Regions from separate parts of the Homo sapiens genome. Here region 1 is linked to region 2. Evidence: promoter capture Hi-C in 16 types of primary human blood cells and fetal thymus (Javierre and others, 2016). All regions are on one chromosome and are shown on one strand. The core of a region is centred on a gene start or on the middle of the fragment in contact, and the rest is flanking DNA. Distances in the headings are between cores, read along the strand shown. Region 1 overlaps GMDS (GDP-mannose 4,6-dehydratase). Region 2 holds the start of FOXC1 (forkhead box C1).

Region 1 (5,274 bases), core at 331-2,830, 480 kb before region 2:
ACCACAAATAAGACCCAAGAATAAGTTTTCAAAAGCAGTGAACAACACATAGTAAAAAATAACCAGGCACTCAAGGAAAAAGTCTGATGAGACCTCTCCTCTTACATCTCCTTTTCTCTTTTACTTTGGGTGCTGCTTCTCTTTTTCCTTCTGCTTCTCTTTTCTTTCTTATTATCTATTCTCCCTTCTTCAACTTTTGTAGCTGTTTTATTTGCATTGAAAATCATCCTCTACTTTGTGGCCTCTTGAAGCATTTATTTTATTTTGTTCTCGGTTCTGTTGCTCTGGTTAAGTCCTTCCTTGTCATCTCACAAATAGTCTATTGTTAGAACCTTTTAGTTGACTTTAATTTTATTTTTTCTTCCTAAATTCAATAGTAAATCAGGTTCAGGCTAATTAAGTCTCTTCTCACAATCCTTCAGTAGTTTCTCTGTGAAAATTCCTGAGCATGACTTTTGATTTCCTTGTAATCTGGCCCCAGATAAAAGAACTAAAAAGTATTGGAAGCTGGGGGAATGATTGAGCACCATTTATTCATGACATTCATTTCCATACTGGATAACAGTATTTTAAATGAATCTATACGCTGTTTGAGAAATTAGTTTTTTTTGTTTTGTTTTAGTATTACCATTGGCTTTTCGTGTAGTGATTTACACATAATAGCTGCCCAATAAATGTTCACTGGATGAATTAATGACTAAAGAGAGAACAGATAAAACTGTTCAGTCACCTGCCTCCCTTGGCACATGTTGCCTCTATCAAGGATAAAGGGACAAGGACCAGCTCTGACATGCTTGTTGTCACACTGTGGATTGTCCTTTGTGCTCTCAGTTTCTCAGTGTATCCCCAATACCCATTGAGTTATGCATCTTATCTGAGCTTCAGCTCTCTTGGTGGTGGGATATAGGGAAAGAGTGGTGCCAACATAAACCATGCTTAGGGCATGACATGAGGCCTGGATTTTCCTCTCTTGCCAGGTGGAGTATTTCATCTCTAGGATCAAGATTGTGATCAGAAAGAACCAGTGTTCTCTAATTTACAGAGCCAGTAACAATGTCATTCATTTTAAGTAAAGTATGCATAGAAAATTTCTATCTCAATAAAAAAGAGAGATCAGGAAACTATTTATTTTGTACAACCCAAAGACTTAAGGAATTTCGAGACTGGAAGAATGTGTGAGTTATCAGGCAAGATGAGGTTGATAGGAGGAACCTGCATTCACTGGTGGTTCATTATAGTTTGCAGGTCTTTCCACGTATTATCTCTTTTTGTCTTTATACCAATCCTATGATACAGGCAAAGCAGATTCCTATTATTACCATTTTACAGACAAGTTAATGTCTAGCTAGCCTTTCTTTTTGCAAACGAATCACTTAGATCATTTCTGGAAGCATTAGCTGAATACCTCCCATATCCCCCACACTCTGCTCTTGATTGCATTTTTTTTCTGATCTCCGCTATCACTAATTAAGCTTTGTAATCTCAGCAAAACACTGACTGTTTTCTTCCATAACATTCTTGTTTGTAAAATCTGTACTCTATATCACAGCATTTTTTTTTTTTACTTTCTACATCTCATTTTAACCTTTCTAGCCACCTTTCTTTCCTCCACTCCAGCATATGAGCATATTACTTTGTAGACAAATAAAATAAGTAAATGCTGAATTAATTGTTAAGTCAAAAGCTTCTCTTTCAGCCCTTTTAGGTTAGGAAAAACAAAGATCCTACTTGGCATAAACAAAATGTCAACAGAAGATGCGCAATAATGTCTATAAAAATCTGAGGACACAAAACTTGGGCAATGCAGATAATCTACCTTGATTATAGGGACTTCACTCAATCTAACATTCTGGCAAACTAAAAACTTCTTTGATGTTGATAATATTTGAGAGCAAATAGGCACACTGTGTTAGGTCTTGGGATAACTAAACGTCCAAGACTTATTTTTCAGGTTCATAAGCAAGTGAACAACATTCAAGCAATACTAAAATTGCGTGTGGCTAAGTGCTAAAACATGAAGTTTACTTACCACAGCAGTCATTGAGTGCCTACTTTTTCTGGGTACTGAGAATAAACACAGAAATCTGTCCTTAAATTTGAATAGTGAAGATGAAATTGTGGGCCTGAGTGCAAATTGTCTCTTCTGTTAGAGATTTTCTTAATGAGAATATTTCTGTTAAGATTGAGTTCAGAGAGAATTCATGAATACTCAAAGATTATTGATGTTACTGATGTTGGGCTCACTTCCTTTCTGATAGATTATTATCACTAATTAATTTGTTACATTTTGAGGCCAAATTTTTCAACTTAAGTAAATAAATCTACATTTAGGATGACAGGAAGAAAGAAAAAGTATTTTCATATACAAAAGAAGTAATCATCATTTCTTCAAATAAAATTGTAAGAACTGACTATTGGTTTACTAAGTGTCCATCTAATCAAGAAATGAATCATGACAGCTTTCCTTGTCCATCTAATCTATCCTGTCAGAACTTCTGAGGATCCCCAAAGCAATTCGTTCTGGTTGGTGGCATCTATGTTGTGTGAGAACAATACCAAACATGTGCCTGTGGTGGGAGTGGAAAGGCCCTTAGGAGGTGAAGGCACTCATATCCTCATAAATTACAGCTGTGGTCATAATTCTTTAGTATTTTAGCTCAACATTTCAACAAGTTTTTTATGTTAATATTTTATTTGGAGCAATATTGTGATTTTCCAAGTGATTTCTCTTATGGAAACTCTTGGGTCTATGGAGGACACAGACAAATATTTCAGAGCTTTTTTATTGCTCCAGACAGCAGCAAACACATGGCAACAATAATACACTAAAAGGAAAACTATTATAGTCGGCCTGAACATTCTTCGTCAAAGCCCTTCTTTCATAATCTTGGCCATAAAGGGCCTGGAAAGGCATACTATCACCTCTTCATTGTGTTATTCTCTGCCAGCACGTAGCCCAGAAGGGAAATAAAACACATTTAACTGATGTGCACAGGCAGAAGAAAATCTATCAGCAACTTTCTGTGAAATGTCTATTATATGAATTGAAAAGTATGTAAAAGCTGGGAGCAGCCTTTGTCACTACTGAAGTTGTTTCGAAGTCCCCGAGTCAGCTGCAGAACGGCAGCTTTGGGGAGGAGCAGCAGCATGCTGGTTACTCATGGTTGGCTGTTCCCTTCTGATTTAAGTGGAGATGCTGCCTGGCCAGTGTGCCTTGAAAGGTCTGGATTTTAACAGAGTAGCTCTCTGTATCGTATTAGAATGATGGGAATTCTAGGTGTGTGAGCCACAATTTTCTATTGTGTAAGATCAATGTCTTTGACTTGTGTGTTAGCACAAAAGTGTTGCTTCTAGTAGAGGGATGAAAAGAAGAAAGGGGAGGCAGGGTTTCATTGAAACTGCCAGCCTCTAGGTCAGTGCACATAGATAGTTACTGCCTCAGGAGGCACAATTGCTGGGTGAATGGTACCACAGAGATTGATTTAGAGTCATGGCTAGTGGGGGTGTTCTACATGTCATGTCTGGAAGAAAATCAGGTGTGTTTTTGAGACAGTGTGTTTTCATGTGGAGCAAACAATCAAAACCAGTGAGTGAGAGCAACCCCAGCATGACCATTGTTTCCTCACCTGTGCCACACTCTCTGTGAAGAGTTGTGTCCACACTTTAGTTTATTTAATAATTTGATGTAATCTGTATTGTATCCCTCATTTTATTCAGAAAATAAGCTCAGAGAATTTTTATATCTTAAGGCCACAGAATTAATGAATGACAGGAGAGCCTGGATTAATGAATGACTAGAGAGTTCAGGTATGCCTGACTTTAGTAATGTCTACATTTCATGGTTGGCCAGGTGTGGTGACTCACGCCTGTAATCCAGCACTTTGGGAAGCCGAGGCAGGTGGATTGCTTAAGCTCAGGAGTTTGAGACCAGCCTGGGAAACATAGTGAGACCCTGTTTCTACAAAAAATACAAAAATTAGCCGGTGTGGTGGTGAGCGCCTGTAGTCCCAGTTACTTGGAGGCTGAAGTGAGAGGATCACTTGAGCCCAAAATGTTGAGGCTACAGTGAGCTGAGATAGTGACACTGCACTCCAGCCTGGATGACAGAGTGAGACCCTGTTTAAAAAAAAATAGTTAGATTTTTCTCTTCCGAGGAGACTGATGTGCAAAAAAGTCAGAGAAACTGGAAGGAAGTGCATATGACTGCTAAATGTGTAAGGTAAGGTGCACAGACAATTAAGAATAATGTTAATTCAAGATGAAATATTATAATCAGAGTTATTTACTTAGTGAGAAAAGAAACCCGATTTTTTTATTTAGCCTAACATATTTGCTATACTAAAAAGCCACAGGTGATTCACAAGAAAAAAATAAGTGAGAAAATAATGAAAATAACCATGTTACAGATACCTAGGGAGAAAGAAAGGAATAAAAAAGATAAGGTCACGAGAGTGGACCTGGGTTTGCCTTAAAGATTTCTAAGCTAAGAAAAATAATTTTTTTTTTTGCTTCTTTCATGGAAGAGAAAATACTTTCATAAACTTAAGGATCTCATGACATTGGTTAAATAGGACTGTAGAAGAGTAGACTTTTCTAAATGTGAACATGTTCAGGTATTTTCCTAGGCTTCATTTGCTTTGTCTAGTAAAAACTGGTACAACCTTGAAAAATGATAGGGTTGCTAAATTTGGTACTGACTTCTGAATTTGGTTGTGGTTTTATGTAACTAATTGCAAGACTGGTTCTTTCACTTTAATAGTGTCAGAAAGTTTCTGATGAAGGGGATAGTCCTCTCTGGTTTGCTCAAATTATATGTAAACCCACTCTTTTACTTTTGAGAAGTTGAATTAAAGAGTTTTATTTAGGCCGGGCATGGTGGCTCACACCTGTAATCCCAGCACTTTGGGAAGCTGAGGCGGGCGGATCACAAGGTCAGGAGATCGAGACCATCCTGGCTAACACGGTGAAACCCCATCTCTATTTAAAAATACAAAAAATTAGCCGGGCGTGGTGGCGGGCGCCTGTAGTCCCAGCTACACGGGAGGCTGAGGCAGGAGAATGGTGTGAACCCGGGAGGCGGAGCTTGCAGTGAGTCAAGATCGCGCCACTGCACTCCAGCCTGGGTGACAGAGCAAGACTCCGTCTCAAAAAAAAGAAAAAAAAAGAGTTTTATTTAGATTATTTTATTAGAGCTGCTTGCTGTGAAATGAAGGGTAATTGAGTAATCTAGAATCTGGGAGCTATTTTAGAGATTGGAAAGTTTGATCATCATCT
Region 2 (5,606 bases), core at 2,886-5,385:
ACAGCCCAGCGAGATTTAAACGGGGCCGTGAGGCCACCCCCAGCCCGCCTGCCCCGAGGAGACACCCGCGCCAGCGCCGCTGCGATCTTCCCGGCGATTAGGTTACGACCCTGGGGGAGGGGACCGAGCGAATCACAGGCCACGTAGAGCAGTTTTTGACTGAAATTAAAGTGTATTTATTTGCAGCAATCCTTTAACAATGATCAAATTTTGACAACAAGCAACAGCAATTACTGCTTAAGTGTTGCCTCTAGATAGGAGCGGCAGATAGCAGGAAACTGTATTATCTCCAAAACAAACTGCAAGCCCCCCACCCCCCCGAACGTCTGTAATCAAATCGCCATCTCCCCAAAGTCTGATTGGCAGGGCAGATCACCCTAAGATAATGAATTTATTACATTTCCTGGGTTATTTACAAAAGGGGGAGGGCCAATCCGGATTGTCCCCTAGGTTTAACTGTAAATTAACAAGAAAAAATGGTTTAAAAAGAAACCACCCTAGACCAAAATGTTCTGCTCCTCTCGCCTTCCTTCTTGTTATTGCTTTAAATCTTTTTCAAAAATAATTGTTCTACAAACATATTTTCTAAAATAGTTTCTCAAAGATTAAATATCCCTTTCCAACCCGCAGTATATTTTTAAAAAAGCAATCCTTCTATGTAATACATGAAGGATTGTAAATGGGGGAGAATTATATACATACATTTAAAAACTGGTTTATTTTTCCTTTTATAAAGGACTGAAATAATAGGAAAATATCTATTCAGCATCTGGCTCACAGGGATGTATAATATGCACTGCAATTTTATATGGAATACACAAGCCAAATATTTATCTGTGCATATCTGGCCGCACAGTCCCATCTCTCGGCACACAGGCATCACCGTGGTAAGACCGCGGCTGATTCATGGGCTTAAAATTTCCGAATCATGGACTGTCATTAGTGAGAAAACGTATTTGTTTATATGCCAACTCCAATCTGTTTAGAAAAATATCTTTTTACTAGCCTCAAAGCAAGCTGACTATATAGTACATTTTGCAGAAGATGCTGCAGGAAAATAAATCTAAACAAAAAGACTTTTAGTAAAATTTGACATGGACTAGTCAGAGGGTTTCTCCATTTTTCAGAGATTTAGGTGGAGAATAGGTAACTTCTAGTGTTTTATCTCTGAAATCTTTTTTCGTAATAATTAAAGCTCTATTAAAGTATCCAGACATATAGGTCTCATTCAAACTGAATGGTAATTTATTAATAAACAAACAATGAATATGTTCAACAAAAAGAAAGAAAAGAGGATAGAATAAGATTAATACAGTTTCCCTTTTTATAATGAGAAAAAAAGCACAATTTAAAGTTTCAGGCAATTTAACGTCAGGTTTTGGGAACACTTTCTGGCGTTTGGTCCACGACATCCAACTACAAATTAAAAATAAATTACTATGTTGCAATTTACATTTTAAAACAAGTCCATGAATAAAAAGAAAGCGACTTTCATAAACGGGGACTTTCCCCCTCCCTTCAACATAGGATAAAATAATATCTTACAGGTGAGAGGCAAGGAAGAAGGCAAGAGAGGGGAGACGGGAGGAGGGGAAAGCAGGTCTCTGAAAAGCAAGAAGAAACTTACGTGTTATCTGGAGTAACACTGTCCTTTAATAAACCAAGATTTTGCTGTCTCTGTATAAAACAGTTTACGGGTTTGTTTATTTAGACAAGGCAAAGTGGAGGTGGCTCTGAATTAATCGGTTAAGAAAATAGAGTTTTCTTCGTGCTGGTGCTGGTGAGCTGAATTTTTGGAGGGATATTCTGTTCGCTGGTGTGGTGAATATTCTCAGGGGTTTTTTTTAATTGGATTTTTTTTTTTTAGTTTCGATTTTGCCTTGATGGGTTCCTTTAGCTTTTCCTGCTTTGGGGTTCGATTTAGTTCGGCTTTGAGGGTGTGTCAAAACTTGCTACAGTCGTAGACGAAAGCTCCGGACGTGCGGTACAGAGACTGGCTGGAAGGGAAGGCCATTTGACAGCTACTATTCCCGTTCACTGGAGAGTTGTTCAAGCCGATCCTCTGTGACTCGAACATCTCCCGCACCGAGTGGAAGTTCTGCTGCTGGCCCGGGTAGCCTGCGGCCGCCGCCGCCGCCGCCGCGCTCGCCAAGTGGCCCAGGTCTCCGCCCGCCTGGTTCAGGTACCACGAGGTGAGGCGGCCTTGGTGGGCCGCAGGGTGGTGGCCGGCCTCCTGGCCTCCCCCGCCGCCGCCGCCGCCGCCGCCGTGACTCAGGGACGACGAGCTGCTGCTGGTGACCGGAGGCAGAGAGTAGTCGGGCAGGGGGTCGTCCACGGCCGAGCCGCCCGCGCCCCCGGGCGCGCCCTGCAAGTGGCCCCCGCGCTCGCCGGCCGCGTACAGGCTCATGGCTTGCAGGTTGCAGTGGTAGGTCCCGGCGCCGCCCGCGCCCCCCGCGGCCCCCGCGCCGCCGCCGCCGCCGCCCGAGCTGCCCGCGCTGGAGGTCTGGCTGCAGGGGGAGCTGTAGAGGGAGCTCTGGCCGGGCGAGTAGGCGCCGAGCGCCAGCGGGGGTGCGATCCCCGCGCGCGAGGACGCGGCCGCCGAGGCCAGAAGGCCGGAGCTGAGCTCCGCGGCCGCGCTCTGCGGCGACCCCCGCAGCGACGTCATGATGTTGTCCACGCTGAAGCCCTGGCTATGGTGCGGCGGCGGGGCGGAGGGCGCGGGCGGCGGCGGCGCGGAATCCGCACCGTCCAGGCTGAGCGGCCGCGCCGACGGCAGGCTGCCCGGGGGGCTGCTCCCGCTGGACAGGCTGCTGCTGCTGCTGTCGGGGCTCTCGATCTTGGGCACCGCGGCGGCGCTGCCGCTGCCCAGGGCGGCGGCCGGGGACAGGGGCTGGGGCGGCGAGGGGCACGTACCGTTCTCGGTCTTGATGTCCTGGATGCGCACGGGCGGCGGCTGCGGACCGGGCGCGTTGCCGTCGGCCTGCTCCGGCGGCGCGGGCGGGGGCTGGCGGCCGGGCGGGGGCGGCTCCTTGAGGTGCAGCCTGTCCTTCTCCTCCTTGTCCTTCACCGCGTCCTTCTTCTTGAAGCGCCGCCGCCGCCGCAGGAAGCTGCCGTTCTCGAACATGTTGTAGGAGTCCGGGTCCAGCGTCCAGTAGCTGCCCTTGCCCGGCTTCTTGTCGTCGCGCGGCACCTTGACGAAGCACTCGTTGAGCGAGAGGTTGTGGCGGATGCTGTTCTGCCAGCCCTGCTTGTTGTCCCGGTAGAAGGGGAAGCGGTCCATGATGAACTGGTAGATGCCGTTCAGGGTGATCTTCTTGTCCGGGGCGTTCTGGATGGCCATGGTGATGAGCGCGATGTAGCTATAGGGCGGCTTCACCATGTCCTTGGGCTGCGGCTGCGGCGTGTAGGGCCCGTAGGCGCGGGCCATGCCGCCCGGGTACTGCTCGGCGTGCGCAGGGTGCGAGTACACGCTCATGGGGGCCGGCATGGCGGTGTAGCCGCCCCCGGCCGCCGCGGCCGCCGCGCGGTAGTAGCTCTGCTCGCCGCCGAGGTAGGGCACCACTCCCAGGGAGTTGGGGCTGGACACGGAGTAGCGCGCCTGCATGGCCCCCGCTCGCCGCCGCCCCGCGCCGCCCGCCGCCCCCCACCCTCGCTCGGGCCGGGCCGCGCCGCGCCGGCCGCCGAGTCCGAGTCCGGGCCCGGCCGAGCTGGTGCCGGCCCGCTGCGCTGTGCGTCCGGCTGCGCTGCCGCCTCTCCCGGCGCTCGCTGGGGCTGGCTCCTCCGGCGCCTCGGGCTACCTCGGGGCCCGCGCGGCCGCGAGGCGGGGTCGCTGCGAGGGGAGAAGGCCGGGCCCGGCCGCGGCAGACCGCCTTGCAGGAACTCGCGGCGCAGCTTCCAGGCGCAAACGGGGGAAAGCAGACAAAAAGAAAGAACAAGCAGGCGCCCTTCTCGCCACACTGCCTGCGCCTTCCAGGAGACTCTGCCCTGAGCTGCCGGCGAAGGCGGCCAAATAACCAGGGCGGGGGGGGGGGGGGCCGCGCGCCGGCCGCCTGCCCGGGCCCCGCGTCACCTTTTCTCGGTCTCTCGCGCGCCAGCCGCTTAAGGAAGCATTGGGAAAACTTCTGAACTTTTGAGCATCCGTCACCCAGGCGAGGACTTTTTTACGCAGTTACACTTTTTTCCGGGCAGCGGAGCCCCGCCCCGCCAGCGGCGGCAGCCAATGGGAGGTGAGAACCGCCTCCGAATGAGCCGGAGGCCGAGCCCTGCCGGCCCGCTCCCGGAGGCCGGAGGACCGCGGGGCTGACCACACGCGCGCCGGCCGCCCTGGCCCGGGCCCCGGCCCTGCGCCCGCGCCGGCGCCCGGCCCGCCGTCGGTTCGCCCCCCGCAGTCCACCTGCCTGCCGCCGGCGCCCGGCAGACCTCCCACCCCGGGCCCTCCGGACCCACGCCCGCCGTTCGCGCAGACTTCCTGGGTCCTCCCGGGACCCCGTGCAGACCCTTCCTTCGCCCACGGCTCCCGAGTGGCCCTGGCGTCTCCGCCCCGCCTCGTGCTGGCTCGCTCTCATTCCTTCGCCAGCCCCGCCGACGCCAGCGCTGGGGTTGCCCCAGCCTCTCCTCCCCGCCGCCTCTCCCCTCCCGCAGCCCCTTCCCTCCCTTCTCCAACGCCAGTCTCACTCGGGTCACTGACGTCTCCGGCTTTTCTCCACTTGGAGGTTCTCCTGTCCTGAACTCGGCTACAAAGGACATGATTTTGAGGGCTCGGTCACAGCCAGGCCCTGCTCGCGGTGGGGAAGAAGGTTCGTCGCCCATCTGGCCCCCCTCCATGACCCCTCCCCAGCCGAAATGAAGGCAAGGGGTGCGGGGCCCTGCTGGGAGTTTCCGACGGCCGTTCACCCGCGAAGGATGAGCCCGCCCCGCTGCGGGCCGCCCTGCTTCTCGCCCCCCTCCCCGGGGGGCCGGCCCTTGGCGGCCTGAGGGTGCGGGCGGCGAGGGCTGCCGGAGCCCGGCTGCTGCCCCGCGCTCCCCTGCCCGCCCGCGAGGGTCCCACCGGCTCGCCGCGCCGCCGCCCCCTCTGATCCCGTCAGGCCCGTTTCGGCTCAGATGAGGGGTCAGGCTGCGGGCTCGGTGACATTAGCAGGTGTGATGACAAGAAGCAAATAAATATGTCTAAGAGCTTAACGCTTCCCCAGGCCAGTCTCCATCTCCACATGCGCGGGGCTGCCGGCTCGCAGAGACAACGGGTGTGTCTGGGGGAACGTCCAGGGTCGCACCTAGAGGGCGGTTCAAGGATTCTGGGGGGACACGCACGGAAGGGCCCCCGCTCGTTGTGCACACGCCTGAGATTCGCCGTCGCTGGGTGGTTGGAATGGGACAGGAAGAAGAGAAATGAGGGAAAGAAACGAAGGAGCGGGAAAGAGCCAGGCCTCCCTCCCCCGGCACGGCGATTCTGCATTTTAGCGACTTGAGGAGAGACCCTCCCGGAGGCTGAATCCCAAGTCGTTCACTAGAAGCTGGGGGAAGTGGCGAGCTCAGGAGACTGCGAAGAAGCGTGCGTGACGCATTTAACAGCTCCGCTGCCCCTGATTTCCGACCATCTATTAAATCCA

Evidence for each region. The method cuts DNA at HindIII sites, captures the fragments that hold promoters and counts their contacts. A CHiCAGO score of 5 or more calls a contact.
Region 1: a contact is called between a fragment that was not itself captured here and the fragment with the promoter of FOXC1 in region 2, in 2 of 17 cell types (M2 macrophages and M0 macrophages). The highest score is 6.6, in M2 macrophages.

What each region holds. Positions count from the first base shown.
Region 1 is chr6:2,084,397-2,089,670 of GRCh38, reverse strand. All of the region lies in intron 4 of GMDS (GDP-mannose 4,6-dehydratase), which reads left to right. Among named protein-coding and RNA genes, the nearest start is that of GMDS, 160 kb to the left of the region's middle. The HindIII fragment of the contact is 212 bases long and covers 1,475-1,686 here.
Region 2 is chr6:1,608,444-1,614,049 of GRCh38, reverse strand. It overlaps FOXC1 (forkhead box C1), which reads right to left and starts at 4,135. Exons shown (of 1, transcript NM_001453.3): 1 at 153-4,135. The coding sequence starts at 3,604. The coding sequence ends at 1,943. RefSeq lists enhancers at 1-423, 3,278-3,377 and a silencer at 3,708-4,327. The HindIII fragment of the contact is 8,300 bases long and covers 1-5,606 here.